2 separate regions of the Homo sapiens genome follow, and region 2 is linked to region 1. The links are contacts of gene promoters, found by promoter capture Hi-C in human tissues and cell types (Jung and others, 2019). All regions are on one chromosome and are shown on one strand. The core of a region is centred on a gene start or on the middle of the fragment in contact, and the rest is flanking DNA. Distances in the headings are between cores, read along the strand shown. Region 1 holds the start of RCAN2 (regulator of calcineurin 2). Region 2 overlaps CYP39A1 (cytochrome P450 family 39 subfamily A member 1).

The links. Contacts are between HindIII fragments. The study calls those that stand out against the background at their distance.
Region 2: a contact is called between a fragment that was not itself captured here and the fragment with the promoter of RCAN2 in region 1, in 2 of the 25 tissues and cell types used here (aorta and hippocampus).

Annotation. Positions count from the first base shown.
Region 1 is chr6:46,490,196-46,492,895 of GRCh38, reverse strand. It overlaps RCAN2 (regulator of calcineurin 2), which reads left to right and starts at 1,447. Exons shown (of 5, transcript NM_001251974.2): 1 at 1,447-1,723. RCAN2-DT (RCAN2 divergent transcript) reads right to left here and starts at 844. Exons shown (of 3, transcript NR_125837.1): 1 at 769-844. RefSeq lists silencers at 825-884, 1,395-1,484. The HindIII fragment of the contact is 8,830 bases long and covers 1-2,700 here.
Region 2 is chr6:46,586,971-46,589,670 of GRCh38, reverse strand. CYP39A1 (cytochrome P450 family 39 subfamily A member 1) reads left to right here. Exons shown (of 12, transcript NM_016593.5): 9 at 1,542-1,637; 10 at 2,506-2,594. Among named protein-coding and RNA genes, the nearest start is that of CYP39A1, 64 kb to the left of the region's middle. The HindIII fragment of the contact is 3,147 bases long and covers 1-2,700 here.

The DNA of each region.
Region 1 (2,700 bases), core at 198-2,697:
TTTTTACATATTTTAAAGATAGTTAGAAGAGGAATTTGACTTGGTTTCTTTGGCTTCAAAAAGTAAGGGAGAACTAATGATTAAAGGGAGGCAAGTTTTTGCTCAACTTAAGAATGCCCTTTCAGACAATTCTAACCCAAATGGCAATTATCTAAATCAACGACTAATTACAGATTTATGCATCCAGGGGAAGGCTGAACGAGGGGAAGCCTAAGGTCATTTTCAATTCTGAAATTGTGTTTATGTTAATGCAGATTAATCAGAGAGAAGAGCCAACGTCTCGTCTACCTTTTTTTGTTGAAAACAAACAAAACGTGATTGTATGTCAACTTTGGAAAAAAACAACGTAGTGTGGGTAAGTGAAGAATGATTGTGAATGGACTGCTTCAGTGCAATCGTAATATTGTTATCAGAAAATCAAAAGGCATAAAAAGCAAAAAGAAAACGGCTTATTTATGCAGCAATTCGAAAGATGACAGAACACAAACCTGATTTAAATGTTATTCACTCCCTCCCTCAGATTGGTCTGCACACCTCCTTCCTTTAATTTCCCGCACTCTCCTATGATCTTTTGCATAATTCACATTCTCTTGCCATGAGACTCAGTCCTGTTCCTATCTGTGCCACCCGTAAGCCACAGGCTTCCTTACCCATTTGAGTTGCTTTATTCCGTAAAGCAGAGACTTCTACTGGGGTTAACTTTGTTGAGCAACAGATCTACCCTAGATTGCGATTCACCTTCAGTCCCGTTTGCTGTAGGATACCAACCTCCCACTCACTGTGTCATGGCTCTCACACAATAGGATTCCTTGCAGCCCGAACCCTTCTGTCCTCAGGTCTGATGGCTGCAAATCCTGGCAAAGCTGTGAAGCCCGCGCAGGGCACCCTCAGCGGCCTGGGCTGGGCCGGGCGCAGGGCTCCAGCCAGAGGGCGCCAGCGCCCACCAAGCGCAGAAGCCCGGGAGGACCATCCAGGGGCTCCCCGACATTTCCTCAGTTAGCCAGAGTCGGGGGGCTCAGACATCTGGTAAGAAGAGTCTTTCTCCCAGTACTCCCCCACCACAGTTTGCTTCTCTGACCATTTCTTCTGGGCTGTCGCTGCCCCCTCACCCTCAGCTTAGTATGGGACCCCGAGGAGCCTCTTCCCGCTGAGGCCGGGACTCCTGCAGCCAGGCTCCCACGCCAGGTGCCCGGAGGCTCCTGCGCCCTCCCGGGCACCTGAAGTGGAAAGGAGGGGGTGCGGGGCTGAGGGCAGGGTGAGAGCCCCGGAGGTGCGGTGGGTAGGGGACTGGGGAGGGCGCCGGGTCAGGAGGGAGGAGATGAGAAGAGGCCAGACAGGGGCTTTCGGTTTCCCTGGGTCTGATTGGAGGTTGGCCCGATGAGTCGGAGCTGGGGACGCGCCCATCTCCGCCGGCTCCTGCGAGAGCCGCCGGCTCAGCCCCTCCCTGGAGCCGCTTTGTCCCGGGTGACGGCGGCGGAGGTTGCGGGGAGGAGCGGGCAGCAGGCAGAATCCCACTGACCCACGGCGGCAGAGAGAGGGAGGCGGGGCGCGCCGCGCCGCGTACGGCCCCACGCAAAGGCCCGCGGGCACCGCGCCGCCCCCACGCGCTCGCACCGGCGGGCAGGTGAGCAGGCAGCGCCGCGCGCTAGCAGCTGGCCCCCGTAGACGCCCCAGCCGCCGCCTCCGCCTCCGCCTCCGCCGGCGCATCGCGGACGCCCAGCAGGTCGGTTATGTAACCGCGCCGGCCAGGCTCGCCCAGGCACCCCGTCCCGCCGGGGCTGACAGCAGCCCCGGGGTCGTGCCGGGGGTCCGCGGCGGGGATCTGGTCTCCGGGCCGGGTCTGGGTGCAGGGCGGGGGCGGGGGCGGGGGCGGGGGCGGTGGCGGGGGTGGGGGCAGTGGCGGGGGTGGGGTTTGTCTCCAGATCTGTGGTCAGTCCCGGCTGCGGCCGTGGGGACGGAGATCTCCCGCGACCCCCCTCTAGGGGGCGCGGGTCCAAAGGAGCCCCTTCCCCACTGCCCGTGGCCCGGGGGTTTGCCTTCCTGGAAGCAGCAGCAGGTGCATAAGTGAAGGAGCGAGGATGACGCCTGTGATCCCCGGGACTGAGGCTTAGAGAGGGTCTAGAAGAGACTAACTGGATGCAGAGAGCAAAGAAGATCGAGAGATCCCTTCTTCCCAATGCAGAGGCTGGGGAGGGGGTAGGTGCACTGAGGTGCAGCGGGCTGAGAATTGTCCTGCTTGGGATTAGCGGCCTTGGGTCATCTAAAAATAACTTCAAGTTTGAAAAGTGAAATGGAGCGGAGCGCAGTGTGCCGGGTTCGTCCTGCCTGTGGGATGCTTCGCTCCAGAAGTCACCAGAGGGAACAGGCAAATCCCAGCCGCCTGATCCCTCGGCCGCCTCCAGGTCTCGCTGGTTTCCAGGGTGCCTCGGTTTGCCTTTTAGTTAATGATTTATTCTTCGAGGTACTTCTGCCTATTTCTTATCCCAAAATGAATTATAGCAGAATGCATGCTTTGAATCTTTCCTGTTTCTTACAATGGGATAGAGGTGTTCAACTGCCAAATGAAGTTTTTTTAAGTCTCAGTTTAGTAAAAACAAAAGTTTCTGGGGTTCCTTTAATATGCATTCCCACAGTTTTCCACAATTGGAGATGAAGGGATGTCACAGCATTCCAGCTCACACTTCTCTCTCCCTTCAGCCA
Region 2 (2,700 bases), core at 17-2,516, 97 kb before region 1:
ATTTTAAAATGATAGAAGGTACCTGCAAAAGCTTCACTGTCTTCCCAGTCTTGGATTTGAGTCTCTCCAGCTCTCCCAGTTCTGAAATTGCCAAATCTCAAGCAATACTCAGCTGCCACTAGAGCCAACAGGGGTTCTCCTGGGTTAAAAAAATGATGACATCCCTACCCATACTCCACTCATAGCTACCAGTAAAAGACATATTTTTATTTTTCTTCGAGACAGAATGTCACTCTGTCTCCCAGGCTAGAGTACAGTGGCACAATCATAGCTCACTGTACCCTCAACCTCCTGGGCTCAAGCAATCCTCCTGTCTCAACCACCCAAGTAGCTGAGACTACAGGTGCACCATCATCCCCAGCTAATATTTTTCATTTTTTTGTAGAGACAAGGTCTTCCTATGTTGCCTAGGCTGGTCTCAAACTCCTGAGCTCAAAGGATCCTCCGACCAAGGCCTCCCAAAGTGCTAGGATTACAGGCATGAGCCACCACACCCAGCAGAAGACATGTTTTTAATTGTAAGGTGTTTATGCTTTGGATAAGTAAACCTAAAGTAAAAGTTTTTCAAATATCTTGAGGACATTTCAAAATTATACACGGTTAAATAGATGTGGCTTATGATGATGGGCAGTGGGAATTACCTAATAAAATATCTCTACCTTAGTAAAGTTGGTAGCTATCTAGCAATTATAAAACTTGGGAGATCTCTTTGTCCTGTGATTCCTGAACATGGTGATGATAGGGAGATTTTGTGAAATGGGTTTTAGTTCTTTGTATAGTTTATAGATCATGAAAATCTGTTGTCATATGAATCAGGAAGGATAATGTAGACTACCTGAGGAAACACATTGTTTATCCTCATTTCCACAAGCACTGTGACCCCAAACACAAACCCAACCAAACAAATACACAACACTTGCCTTTTCCTGTGTCTTCCTAACCAGTCGTTTTTCATTTGTTTCTTTCCTAATAACCGGTGCTGGACTGAGGAAAGAAAAGTCCACTGCCCCTGCTCTAACACTGTCATTAGTATCCACAAGAACAGGACATCCTCTGCCCCTCTTCTCAGTGCTACCATGGCCATTGTCCCTGTCTCAGAGTCCAATTTTTCTGTTTCATAACCTGAGCCTCCACTGTAGTTTCTGCCTTCAAGAACTCTGGCCACAAACCCTAATATCAAACATCAAAAGGTACATTAGAAGGGACTTATACTAGTTTCTAAAATTTTGACATTTAGCTAATATTTCCTTCCATATAACTGAATATATGTACATGTGAATCAGAATTATATAATTTCCTCTATGTAACCAAATATATGTATATGGAAATCAGAATTATATAGATACTATATTATTAGATTTTATATTATTTATAATTAGATATTATATAATTATATAGATATTAAAAATTAGATTTTCTCACATTCAATTATAAAAGGTATATCTTCACCACAATATAATTGTAGCATCATTTTTAGTGGCCCAAATTCTCTTTAAAGTATATTTCAAAAAAATGATTTGCAGCTGATTTTTCTGTTATAGAATTACATCATTCCTTCTGGTGACTTGTTGATGTTGTCTCCATTTTGGCTGCATAGAAATCCAAAGTATTTTCCTGAGCCTGAATTGTTCAAACCTGTAAGTTATCTCTTTCAGTATATATTATTCTTTCATTTTAATTTCTTTTTATTTCAGAAGGGTAAATTCAGAAATTAATTAGGACTATATAATTAAGCAGCCATATTTCTCTCGTAACTAAGAACAAAGTTGACTACAAAGTACAGAACAGATTTGCAATATAGATAGTGCAACATTTACAAATCAGTTAGAAAAGTTTTTGTAGTAAACTTCTCTAACTTTAAAATACATTTTACATGAAACCAGAAGGGCATGTTCAAGTGAATAAGCCTGTTTTTGATAGAAGACTTATTTCATGTTCTTCAGGCAATTGCTTCTGTCATTGGTTTCCAAGGAGTACAAAAAAATACAAATAAAGCAAATTAAAACCGTGATCTGCTGTTTCTTAGAACTGGAAAGTTACAGGGCCGAACAGAATGTTAAGAGGTCATTTAGTCTGTTCTCTGCCTTTAGGTAAAACTGTCAAAAATGGCATCCAGATGCATTCATTCTGCATCCCAAGCTTTTTCTAACAGGCAGGGATGTCAGTGTCTTACTACTAAATTTATTACCAAGAGCAATTTTATGACGGAGCCTGAGACCTTATTATAAATATTCTTCCTCTTCTTAGGTCAATTCTGTGGTTGATTTACCTTATCATTTACATTTACCACTTAACAGAATTTTTTAAAAACCTTTTTATTTATAAGTTCATGTTCCAGAAACACAATTGTGTCTAATATTAATAACAGGGTGGAAAAAATTACCAACAACCCTGCAACTTTATATGCAAGGATTAGCTGTACAAGGTCATTTTTAGCCTAGAGAAATAAAGTTAAGCTTATTTATATAAGGCTGATTTGGAAAAAAAAATGTTTTCTTCCCACAGGAACGTTGGAAAAAGGCAAATTTAGAGAAGCACTCTTTCTTGGACTGCTTCATGGCATTTGGAAGCGGGAAGTTCCAGTGTCCTGCAAGGTCAGTGAGACAGCTGGGCCACATTTATCCAGAAAGTCTGCAGAAAGATGATGGCTCAGAGGGGAACAACTTTGGCTTAATCTCTTTATATATATATTTAAACTAT